Linked DNA regions of Homo sapiens: region 2 is linked to region 1. Evidence: promoter capture Hi-C in 16 types of primary human blood cells and fetal thymus (Javierre and others, 2016). All regions are on one chromosome and are shown on one strand. Each heading gives the region's core, a stretch centred on a gene start or on the middle of the fragment in contact. The rest is flanking DNA. Distances are from core to core; before and after follow the strand shown. Region 1 holds the start of LDHAL6A (lactate dehydrogenase A like 6A). Region 2 holds the start of LDHC (lactate dehydrogenase C).

The links. Contacts are between HindIII fragments. The CHiCAGO score rates a contact against its expected background, and 5 or more counts as called.
Region 2: a contact is called between the fragment with the promoter of LDHC here and the fragment with the promoter of LDHAL6A in region 1, in 8 of 17 cell types (total CD4 T cells, erythroblasts, naive CD8 T cells and 5 more). The highest score is 7.0, in total CD4 T cells.

What each region holds. Positions count from the first base shown.
Region 1 is chr11:18,451,822-18,457,606 of GRCh38, forward strand. It overlaps LDHAL6A (lactate dehydrogenase A like 6A), which reads left to right and starts at 4,035. Exons shown (of 7, transcript NM_144972.5): 1 at 4,035-4,985. The coding sequence starts at 4,860. LDHC (lactate dehydrogenase C) reads left to right here. Exons shown (of 8, transcript NM_017448.5): 8 at 1-242. The HindIII fragment of the contact is 8,824 bases long and covers 1-5,785 here.
Region 2 is chr11:18,410,710-18,416,499 of GRCh38, forward strand. LDHC (lactate dehydrogenase C) reads left to right here and starts at 1,609. Exons shown (of 8, transcript NM_017448.5): 1 at 1,609-1,699; 2 at 2,000-2,134; 3 at 4,475-4,592. The coding sequence starts at 2,009. The HindIII fragment of the contact is 7,298 bases long and covers 1-3,615 here.

The DNA of each region.
Region 1 (5,785 bases), core at 2,785-5,284:
GTAGTCCAGCTACTTGGGAGACTGAGACCAGTAGATAACTTGAGCCCAGGAGTTCAAGGCTATGATTGTGTCACTGCACTCCAGCCTGGGCCACAGAGGAAGACTCAGACTCAAAAGAAGAAGAAGAACACAGAAGAAAAGCAGAAACAAGAAGAAGATACAGATGTAACTTTACGATGTAAAAAATCTAAATAAGATTGTATTCAACTCTGCAAGTATTATACTAGTCATATAAACTCAAATAGTTGATTTGGTGTCTCAATTGAAATATCACCTGGGGAGCTTATGCCATCCTCAGTTATTTGTGCAGCAGACTATTACTATGCTTGCTATGGTATAGTTATGAAATCAGTATGACATTATCTCTGCCCTCAAGTATCCACAGTGAGTATTTAGGGTACCTCAACGAATTGATTTTTGACTAATTTTTTTTTCCTTTTTGAGATGGAGTCTCACTCTGTCACCTAGGCTAGAGTGCAGTGACACGATCTGTGCTCACTACAACCTCCACCTCCTGGGTTCAAGTGATTCTTCTGCCTCAGCCTCCCAAGTAGCTGGGATTACAGGCACCCACCACCACGCCTGGCTAATTTTTTTATTTTTAGTAGAGACAGGGTTTCACCATGTTGGCCAGGCTGGTCTTGAACTCCTGACCTCAAGTGAGCTGCCCACCTCAGCCTCCTAAAGTACTGGGATTACAGGTGTGAGCAACTGCGCCCGGCTGATTATTGACTAATGTTTGATAATAGTCATTAATAGCTCCCTGTTGGTGTCTAAAGGTGAAAATGCTTCTACTGATTTATATAGTATATAGATACATATGAAGTATTTCCTTGATTCCACAAGAAATTTAAGGCAGCTATAGGAACTATACAATAAAACAAAAACTAAGAAATCAGTATCAAGGTAATTTACAATTTTTTTTCTTTTTTTAGACAAGGTCTTGTTCTGTCACCCAGGCTGGAGCTGGAGTGCAGCGGGTAATTGTGGCTCGCTGCAGCCTCGAACTCCAGGGCTCATCAGATCCTCCCACCTCAGCCTCCTGAGTAGCTGAGACTACAGGCACATGCCACCACGCCCTGCAGATTTTCGTATTTTTTGGAGACAGGGTTTCACCATGTTGCCCAGGCTGGTCCTCAACTCCTGGGCTCAAGCAGTCCTCCTGCCTCGGCCCCCCAAAGTGCTGGGATTATAGGCATGAGCCACCACTCCTGGTCAATTTACAAATTAAGACTAGAACTGGACCAATGGGAAAGATCAGAAGGTAGATATGCAGCCCCTGAGGACTCGCATGACTAGTGAAGGCTGACTCATTTGGTCAGAGAGTCATGGCTTACCCTCTGAGTCTGTTATTCTTGCTCTCTTGATAGCTTTCATTCTGGTCATCTACTCCTGATCATGATTAGTGTCCCATTATTTTATTATTTCCCCTTTTTCTTCAGCATCTTCCCTTGAATATATACAATTATTATCAGTTGAGTTAGGATGAGGGCAAGGGGAGTCTTCTGTGGGTTTTGGCTTTTTTAAAAGCTCGTTTGTACATCAAAACTTCATTTTAGGAAATTCTTGCAGAGATTAAAAGGCTGAAAAATTGATACAGTTTCTACAGGGAACATTCTAGTAAGTAAAACTGCTCTACATGTCCCCAAGTGGCTGAAAATTGGTTCTGGGTATGGGGGAGGGAGGAAAAGGTAAAAAAAAACTTAGATATTACAAGAGTTTGGCTCTCCAGAGCTCAACCTTGCCTGACAAATAAACGTATATGTATATGTGTATGTGTGTGTATATATATATATATATATATATATATATATATATATATATAGGTTTTTTTTTTTTTTTTTTTTTTTTAAGAGATGGAGTCTTGCTCTGTCACCCAGGCTGCAGTGCGGTGGCGCAAGCTCCACTCACTGCAACCTCCACCTCCCAGGTTCAAGCAATTCTCCTGCCTCAGCCTCCTGAGTAGCTGGGACTACAGGTGCCTGCTACCACGCCCGGCTAATTCCTTTCCTTTTTTTTTTTTTTTTTTTGAGACGGAGTCTCGCTCTGTGGCCCAGGCTGGAGTGCAGTGGCACGATCTCGGCTCACTGCAAGCTCCGCCTCCCCGGTTCGCGCCATTCTCCTGCCTCAGCCTCCCGAGTAGCTGACGCCTGGCTAATTTCTTTTATATTAGTAGAGACGGGCTTTCACCGTTTTGCCCAGGCTGGTCTCGAACTCCTAAGATCAGGCAATCCGCCCGCCTCGGCCTCCCAAAGTGCTAGGGTTACAGCCGTGAGCCACCGCGCCCGGCCAACTCCTTAATATTTAATTTCATGATGGGGGTGCAAAACAATTAGGGGGAACATATCTACAAAGACTCTTGAGGGAGTGATAATGAAAAAAGATTGAGAAACACTGCTCTACATTTTATAAAAATTTGTCAATATGTATTACTGTATTAGGGTTCTCTAGAGGGACAGAACGAATAGGATAGCTATATATATAAAGGGGAGTTTATTGAGGAGTATTGACTCACACAATCACAAGGTGAGGTCCCACAACAATAGGCCGTCTGCAAGCTGAGAAGCAAGAAAGTCAGTCGGAGTTCCAAAGCTGAAGAACTAGGAGTCCAATGTTTGAGGGCAGGAAGCATCCAGCACAGGAGAAAGATGAAGGCTGGAAGACTTAGCCAGTCTAGTCCCTCCACGTTCCTCTGCCTGCTTTTATCCTAGACGTGCTGGCAGCTGACTAGATGGTGCTCACCCGGATAGAGGGTGGGTTTGCGTCTTCTAGCCTACTGACTCAAATGTTAATTTCCTGTGGCAACACCCTCACAGACACACCCAGGTTCAACACTTTGCATCCTTCAATCCAATCAAGTTGACACTCAGTATTAACCATCAAAATTACGTATTATGATTCACAAATGAGAAAACAATTAGGTAAAATGTGGTGGGAGAAGTAGAAACCTTGGTTTATTCCAGACTGATTTTCAATTCTACATTTTTGTTTTTTATTTTTGAGACGGAGTCTCACTCTGTCACCCAGGCTGGAGGGCAGTGGCATGATCTCGGCTCACCAAAACCTCCGCCTCCCGGGTTCAAACGATTCTCCTGCCCCAGCCTCCTGAGTAGCTGGGATTACAGGTGCGTGCCACCACACCCGGCTAATTTTTGTATTTTTAGTAGAGACGGGGTTTCGCCATGTTGGCCAGGCTGGTCTCGAACTCCTGACCTCAGCTAATCCACCCGCCTCGGCCTCCCAAAGTGTGGATTCTACATTTAACCACTTAATAATGAATTGAGCTTTCCCTTCATCTTGTAAAAATGGTTATCAATTGGCACTGCATTCATCAAATTCTTCAGGTTTCATATCTTATTTCCAAATTCCTTTTGCATACAGAGTTTTGTTGTTGTTTTGAGACAGGGTCTCACTCCGTCACCCAGGCTGGAGTGCAGTGGCACAATTTCGGCTTACTGCAACCTCCGCCTCCCAGGTTCACAAACAATTCTTGTGCTTCAGCCTCCCAGGTAGCTGGGATTACAGGGGTGCACCACCACGTCCAGCTAATTTTTGTATTTTTAGTAGAAACGTGGTTTCACGATGTTGGCCAGGCTGATTTCGAACCCCTGACCTCAGGTGATCCGCCCGCCTTGGCCTTCCAGAGTGCTGGGATTACAGGCGTGAGCCACCACGCTCGGCCCAGAGTTTTAAAATTTTACTTTTTCTACTTTAGCTCACATTTGAGGTGGTAAAAGTTAATCTTGAGGTCCCTTTCTCCTACAGGGCTGGGGGAAAATTTTCACGTGAGAGTCAAACAGTCCTTTTCAGATACATCCAGACAAGGTTTGGTTAGAAATAAAATTACTTGGGCTCTCTGGTGGATGGGTTCTAGGCAAACAACTCCGCCCAACAGCAGAGGCCCTGCACTGCGTTGTGCCTGCAGCACCTCGTGCGCCTTCTGCAGCCGGCCAACCACCTACACCGCAGCCCGCCCACCCGCACGCGGGGGCGGGGCGGGCAGGCAGAGGCGCAGGCGCGGTGCTTCGCAGCCCGCTTCCGGCCTCACACCTGCCAAGCATCACACCTGCCAAGCATCACACCTGCCAAGCATCACACCTGCCAAGCATCACACCTGCGATGCCTGCACGAGCTGGGTGCGGTCCGCGCAGCTGCAGTAAGGGGGCGACCCGGCGTCTGTTAGTCGGCGGTTCATCTCCTTCGTGCCTCGATGAGCTTTAACGCCATTTTCCTCCATTCTCTTTCTTCACCTCTTGAGTGAGTGGCCATGAGCTGGGCTGCAAGAGTCCTGGGGAGCAGCCAGAGAGCGGGCGCCGCGGGAGCGAATTGTTTTTGCCCAAGGATGGTTCTGTGTCTCCGCCAGGCGGCATGTGACCTGCTCGGGCGCGGGTGGCCCTTCACCCCTGTGAGTGTGGCCAGAAGTACCTCTCACCTGGACCTGCGGACCCCGGGCGCAGTCCTGGAGCTGAGAACTGGAGGTTGGGGGAACAGCAGGGTAAAGGGGAGAGAAAAGGGGGTCAGCTGCGGGACGGAGTGCCGTCCCAGCTGTAGTTTCATGTTTGGTGGAGCAACCCCTGTTCCTTTCCTCTCTCTCTCTCTTAATTCCTCTTAACTGTACTCACGCTTCCTTCTCCTTCCCCTGGTCCGCTTCATGGATGCTGAGCTGCCTGGCCAGAACCTACCCAGCTTCTTTGCTGGTCAGATTTGTCGGTCTTTTGTGTGTCTGCAGCACCTCCTTCCACACGGGCCCAGGAGTTCTCTATACGCGCTCTCACCGCAGGTCTTGGAATTCCAAGCCATTTCCAATTCCAGGTCTTGGAAATGGCTGTGCAATTTGTCTTCACTGTTAGGTTTCCAAGATGGCAACTATCAAGAGTGAACTTATTAAGAATTTCGCGGAAGAGGAGGCCATTCATCACAATAAGATCTCCATTGTAGGAACTGGATCGGTTGGTGTGGCTTGTGCTATCAGCATCTTATTAAAAGTAAGTTGTGTGCTCTGCACCACAGGGTTCACCTCAGTTGGAGGCGAGGCCACAGCGTATGGTTGTGGAGGTTGTGTCCAGTTCAAGGTGGTGAGTGGGGAGCCAGTGTGAGGGGCATCAGAGGAAAAGGTGCCCTTTTTTTAGTTGTTCACCCAGAGGGCGCTCCTTTTTAAAAATTGTATGATGATATCATGTGGGTTAGAAGCATCTCTGTGAAAGTATGTTGACATTTCACTTTCACGTAATGACAATATGAGGTACCCCTTTGCTTGATTTGGAAACTCAGCTCACAAAACAAACTGGAGAGAAATAGGTGGCAGAAAAGAGTATACAAGCGTGTCAGTGATGGTAGGCAGCCTACGAGTACCAAATACAATAATCTTTTTTCATTTAAATATCTCTCTCCCATTTCCTAGTCTGTATATCTTTATTTCCCTTCGTTCCTTATTCATGTTAGGTTAGTTTTAGTGTTTAGCTGTTCTTAGTATTGATACAGCTGATAAAGTTTTATGGCTATAGACAGAGGCCAAAAAAAGATTCTGACCCCTTTCTAAGAATATTACCCTGATATGAACTTTATTACCATAAAGTTTTAATAAATCATAAGACACTCTGAGCTATACTTTTATTAATGAAATATCTGTAAAATGTTTTAGCCATCTTTTATATAACCTTTAATCCTGGCATGAGTCATTGGATTTAAAGGATTGCCTCTGGGTTTCATATCTAGATGACATAGTGACCTTATGGCACTAAGGACAGCAGCCACAGCCAACTGCTGCTCCTGCCAGCCATACAAA
Region 2 (5,790 bases), core at 359-2,858, 44 kb before region 1:
TAGTTGCTGGTTGAGAAAAGTGCCATAAGAGAGAGATATACAGGAAATGATGGTAGTTGACATTTGTCAAGGAAAGCCAGAGTATGTATGTGCAAAGCTGAAAATGAGGAATTAACCTTGAGAAGGGCTGGGGAAAGAGCTTTCTTGGTTTAAAGAACAGCAAAAAGTCCTGATCCAAAAAAGCTGTCCAAAGCCTAGTTGGAAGGAAGTGTATTGAGTGTCCTGAGATGATATGGGAAGTGGGGGTAGGAGGCCAAATCTTGAAGATCTAGGTTGTGGTAAAAGTGGGTTACTCTACCTGTAATGGAAAGCCACGGAAGAGTTTAAAGCAGGGTTATTGCATAATCTGAACCATATTGAAAACAAATACTGACTGGGTGCGGTGGTTCACGCCTGTAATCCCAGCACTTTGGGAGGCCGAGGTGGGTGGATCACTTGAGGTCAAGAGTTCGAGACCAGCCTGGCCAGCAAGGTGAAATACAAAAAAATACAAAAAAATTTGCCCGGCGGCTGGGCACGGTGGCTCAGCACGGTGGCTCACGCCTGTAATCCCAACACTTTGGGAGGGCGGATCACTAGGTCAGGAGTTGGAGACCATTCTGACCAACATGGTGAAACCCCATCTCTACTAAAAATACAAAAATTAGCCGGGCGTGGTGGCGCACGCCTGTAGTCCCAGTTACTTGGGAGGCTGAGGCAGGAGAATTGCTTGAACCCAGGCGGCGGAGGTTGCAGTGAACTGAGATTGTGCCACTGCACTCCAGCCTGGGCGACAGAGTGAGACTCTGTCTCAAAAACAACAACAATAACAACACTACAGGCTATTATAAGAAAAATAAATTATATTTTGGATTTTGAAAAAGGTTCAAATGCAAATACTCTACAAAAGATGGAGTAGGTTGTGTCCCCTTCTGTGAGATATATATCTCTCTCACAAAAAAAAAAATATATATGTAAATTTTTTTTGAGATGGAGTTTCTCTCTTGTTGCCCAGTCTGGAGTGCAGTGGCGCGATCTTGGCTCACTGCAACCTCCGCCTCCTGGGTTCAAGCGATTCTCCTGCCTCAGCCTCCCAAGTAGCTGGGACTACAGGCATGCACCACCATGCCCGACTAATTTTATATTTTTAGTAGAGACGGGGTTTCGCCATGTTGGCCAGGCTGTTCTCAAACTCCTGACCTCAGGTGATCCACCTGCCTCGGACTCCCAAAGTGCTGGGATTACAGGTGTGAGCCACCGCGTCCGGCCATGAGTTATAAATATTAACAATTTCTTGCTGTAAATTGAAAGCATCCTTCGCGTCTTTGCGTTTCATTACCACCCTCTGTTCTCTCAAGAGAAATTCTAACTTTATTTCAGCACTCAGTCCTGAAGTTACAGAAGTTAATAATTTTTTAAAATCCTGCAAACAATGCATGGATATCCCCGTCTTGCACACTCTTTGGGCCAGTCTAGAATTCTTCCCATCAGCATTTCGGTGATCTGGACCGCCGCCACCCACACTGCGCTCCAGGGCAGAAAAGACGCCCCATGCCCGCGCCTGGGCCGGCGGGGGGCGGAGCTTGCGTGCTGACGCATAAGAGCCGAGCGGGGGAACGTGCGTGTCTCGAGTCGCACGGAGGGCAACCGTCGACGGGCTTAGCGCCTCAACTGTCGTTGGTGTATTTTTCTGGTGTCACTTCTGTGCCTTCCTTCAAAGGTGGTGCTTTGTCCCTGTGGGTCATCTGTACTGATTGCGCCAAGCAAAGCATTTGTGAGCGTGTGGTGCTGGGGTGAAAGTGGTGGCTGGGGGCAGGGAGAAATCCAAAAGCCCGCTGGTGCCCCAGCCCTCCCATTGCCTGGTAGACTGGGCCTTGCTTTACCCTCCCCGCATCCTTTGACCAGGAAATTCTTTCTTTGGCTTCCCCCCATCCCCGGCTCCAACATTCTGCAAACTGAAGAGGTAGTTTCTTAGATGTTCAGTGTGGTTAATCCAATGAAATTGCATTATCCCTATCAGGTTCTCCAAATGTCAACTGTCAAGGAGCAGCTAATTGAGAAGCTAATTGAGGATGATGAAAACTCCCAGTGTAAAATTACTATTGTTGGAACTGGTGCCGTAGGCATGGCTTGTGCTATTAGTATCTTACTGAAGGTGAGTGAGAAGCCCATCCTGTGGCTGAAAATCAAGTGAGCACTTCAGAGTGTTGTATATGTCGATGTATTCAGGGTTGCAAGGTTAATCCCTTGAAAGCAATTATGTATCCTTTGACCTTTCCTCCCTCCCTCCCTCCCTCCCTTCCTTCCTTCCTTCCTTCCTTTTTCTTTCTCTCTTTCTTTTCCTTTTTTTTTAAACTTCTTCTTTCTTTTCCTTTCTTTTTTTTTCTGACTTTCCTTTTCTTTTTCTTTTTTTGAGACAGGATTTGTCTGTTACCCAGGTTGGAGTGCAGTGGCGCGATCTTGGCCCACTGCAACCTCCACCTCCCGGGATCAAGCGATTCTCCTGCCTCAGCCTCTTGAATAACTGGGGCCACAGGCATGCACCACCAGGCCTGGCTAATTTTTTATATTTTTAGTAGAGATGGGGTTTCTCCATGTTGGCCAGGCTGGTTTCGAACTCCTGACCTCAAGTGATCCGCCTGCCTCGGCCTCCCAGAGTACTGGGATTACAGGCATGAGCCACCACACCTGGCTGCCAATAGGTATTGTTTTTAACCCTTGTGCCCTCCTCCCTCTCTGCTTTTGGAGTCCCCAGTGTTTATTGTTCTCTCTTTTTTTTTTTTTTTTTTTTTTGAGACGGAGTCTCGCTCTGTTGCCAGGCTGGAGTGCAGCGGCAGGATCTCGGCTCCCGGCAACCTTTGCCTCCCGGGTTCAAGCAGTTCTCCTGCCTCAGCCTCCTGAGTAGCTGGGACTACAGGCATGTGCCACCACGCCCAGCTAATTTTTATATTTTTAGTAGAGACGGGGTTTCATCATGTTGGCCAGGATGGCCTTGATTTCTTGACCTCGTGATCCGCCTGCCTCAGCCTCCCAAAGTGCTGGGATTACAGGCATGAGCCACCACGCCTGGCCTTAAGTAGGGACTTTTACTTCTTTCCCTTACTGTTCGCTTTTGGAATCTGGCTATTGAAATCTGAATGAATACACTCCTTGTATATAGTTCCGTACTCTGTCACATGTGACAAAAACCCAGTTTAAATTAGGGTAAGCAGAAAAAGACGAAATATTGTTCATGTAACTGGAAATAGGGCAAAACTGCTTCAGGTACTACCGGATTCTGAAGTTCACACATATCAAGACATAGTCTTTGTATATCTTGGTTTAGATTTTCTCTGTTGGCTTAATTCGTAGAGCCTTTCTATGTGGTGGTAAAGATGGCTGTACAGTTTGTTCTTAGATTCTTGTTTTTTCTCCAACTCTACAGTCCTTACTAATGTTCTTAGATTTGCATGTTATTCTTAGAGCTTATGATTCCAAAGAAAAGTGAGATGTAATCTTCCGTCTTCCATTTTCAAACTTCATAGACATGCTTGTTTCTTATACCTGGGCCATATGTCCACTTATGAACTGATTTCTGTGACCAGAAGGAAAGGATGGAACAATTGGCTAGGTCTGGTTTTATGCCCATCTACCCTAAGCTTGGAAAACCAATGTTAATTGTACTGCACTGAAACATATGGAATGGGTTCCCATGGAAAAGAGAAATTCTATTACCAGAAAAAGGGACACTAGACAGATGAAAACAATAAGTGTTCATCAGAGGTGGTTACCTTCCTGTTTGGGCCATAACGACGCATACTAAAAGCAGCTTTAGCCAACTCAGAAATTAGGGTTAAGGTTAAATATAATAAAATCCTGGCCGGGCGCAGTGGCTCAGGCCTGTAATCCCAGGACTTTGCGAGGCTGAGGTGGGTAGATCACTTGAGGTTAGGAGTTTGAGACCAGCCTGACCAATATGGTGAAACCCCGTCTGTACTAAAAATACAAAAATTAGCCGGACATGGTGGCGGGCGCCTGTAATCCCAGCTACTCGGGAGGCTGAAGCACGAAAATTGCTTGAACCTGGGAGACGGAGGTTGCAGTGCCCGAGATTGTGCCACTGCACTCCAGCCTGGGCGACAGAGTGAGACTTCATCTCAAACAAAACAAAACAAAAAACACAAAAATAAAGGCTAAATATAATAAAAGCCTTTGAAATCATTTTATTTTCCTTGGTTTCAAACTGTTATCTGAATGGCAAAAAAAAACAAAAACAAAAAACACCCAGCTCTAAAAAGTTCTAACAATTATATGAAGTCAAACAATTTTTGCTACATCTTAATATTTACTTACCTTGACTTTCGGTCACCCAGGCTCATTGAAAAACTATTTTTATATCATTTTTCCCTATTAAAATATGAGATTCCTTTAATTATCAAGTAGCCACATGAAAATTCTTCTTATTCTCCTAAAACTTAAGTAGGAACATTTTATTCAGAACTTTTGTATATTTTAGGATTTGGCTGATGAACTTGCCCTTGTTGATGTTGCATTGGACAAACTGAAGGGAGAAATGATGGATCTTCAGCATGGCAGTCTTTTCTTTAGTACTTCAAAGATTACTTCTGGAAAAGGTTAATTTTAGTTTTATAAAGTTATTTTCAAAGCTTTTTAAAAAAGTAATAAATTTTACCAAACAGATGTCAATAAATATAAAATTAAAAATAGCACCATGCCATTGGGCCATATAATTTAATTTAGTTGATCAATTTTTTTTGTTTTTTGAGAGAGTCTCACTCTGTCACCCAGATTAGAGTGCAGTGGCGCGATCTTGGCTCACTGCAACCTCCACCTCCCAGCTTCAAGTGATTCTCCTGCCTCGGTCTCCTGTGTAGCTGGGATTACAGGCATGCGCCACCACGCCTGGCTAATTTTTGTATTTTTAATAGAGACGTAGTTTTGCCATGTTGGCCAGGCTGGTCTCGAACTCCTGACCTCAGGTGATTGGGCCATATAGTTTATTTTTATTTATTTATTTATTTTGAGATGGAGTCTCGCTCTGTTGCCCAGGCTGGAGTGCAGTGGCACAATCTCAGCTCACTGCAACCTCCGCCACCTGGGTTCAAGCAATTTTCTTGCCTCAGTCTCCTGAATAGCTGGGATTACAGGCATGCGCTACCACACCCCGCTGATTTTTGTATTTTTAGTAGAGATGGGGTTTCACTATATGTTGGCCAGGCTGGTCTCGAACTCCTGACTTCAGGTGATCCACTTGCCTCGGCCTTCCAAAGTGCTGGAATTACAGGTGTGAGCTGCGGTGCCCAGCCGGGCCATATAATTTAAAAAGTTAATTTTTTTAAAAAGAACACTTCGATATAATTGGAGCATATTTGGAAAACAGAAAGTATAAAGAAAAATTGAATCTCTTCTATTAATGACTTTATGTAGGTTTTCTAAGCTTTTGTTTTCTTTACATAACTGATGTATAAATGCTTTTAAGCTTGTCATTTTGTCTTATATATTTTCCCAAGAATATACAATCTTGAAGAGTTTCTGTAATATTATTAATACATTTATCCATATTCTTTAGTTTTCTTTCTATGTTTATAGTGAACCAGGTTTCAAGGCATAGCATGAGGCCATAGAACATAAGAAATTTAGAACTTGGCCTCATTGGTGTTAGCATCATCTGTTGACCAACTAAGAAGCCTCAGATAATTAGGAAACATAATTATTTTATCATACACTAAAGTATATGGTGCACTGTTTGGTAATGTGATTCAACAGATATACTTTCTACTAGAAGCCCTCTTATCTAACATGATTGAGATT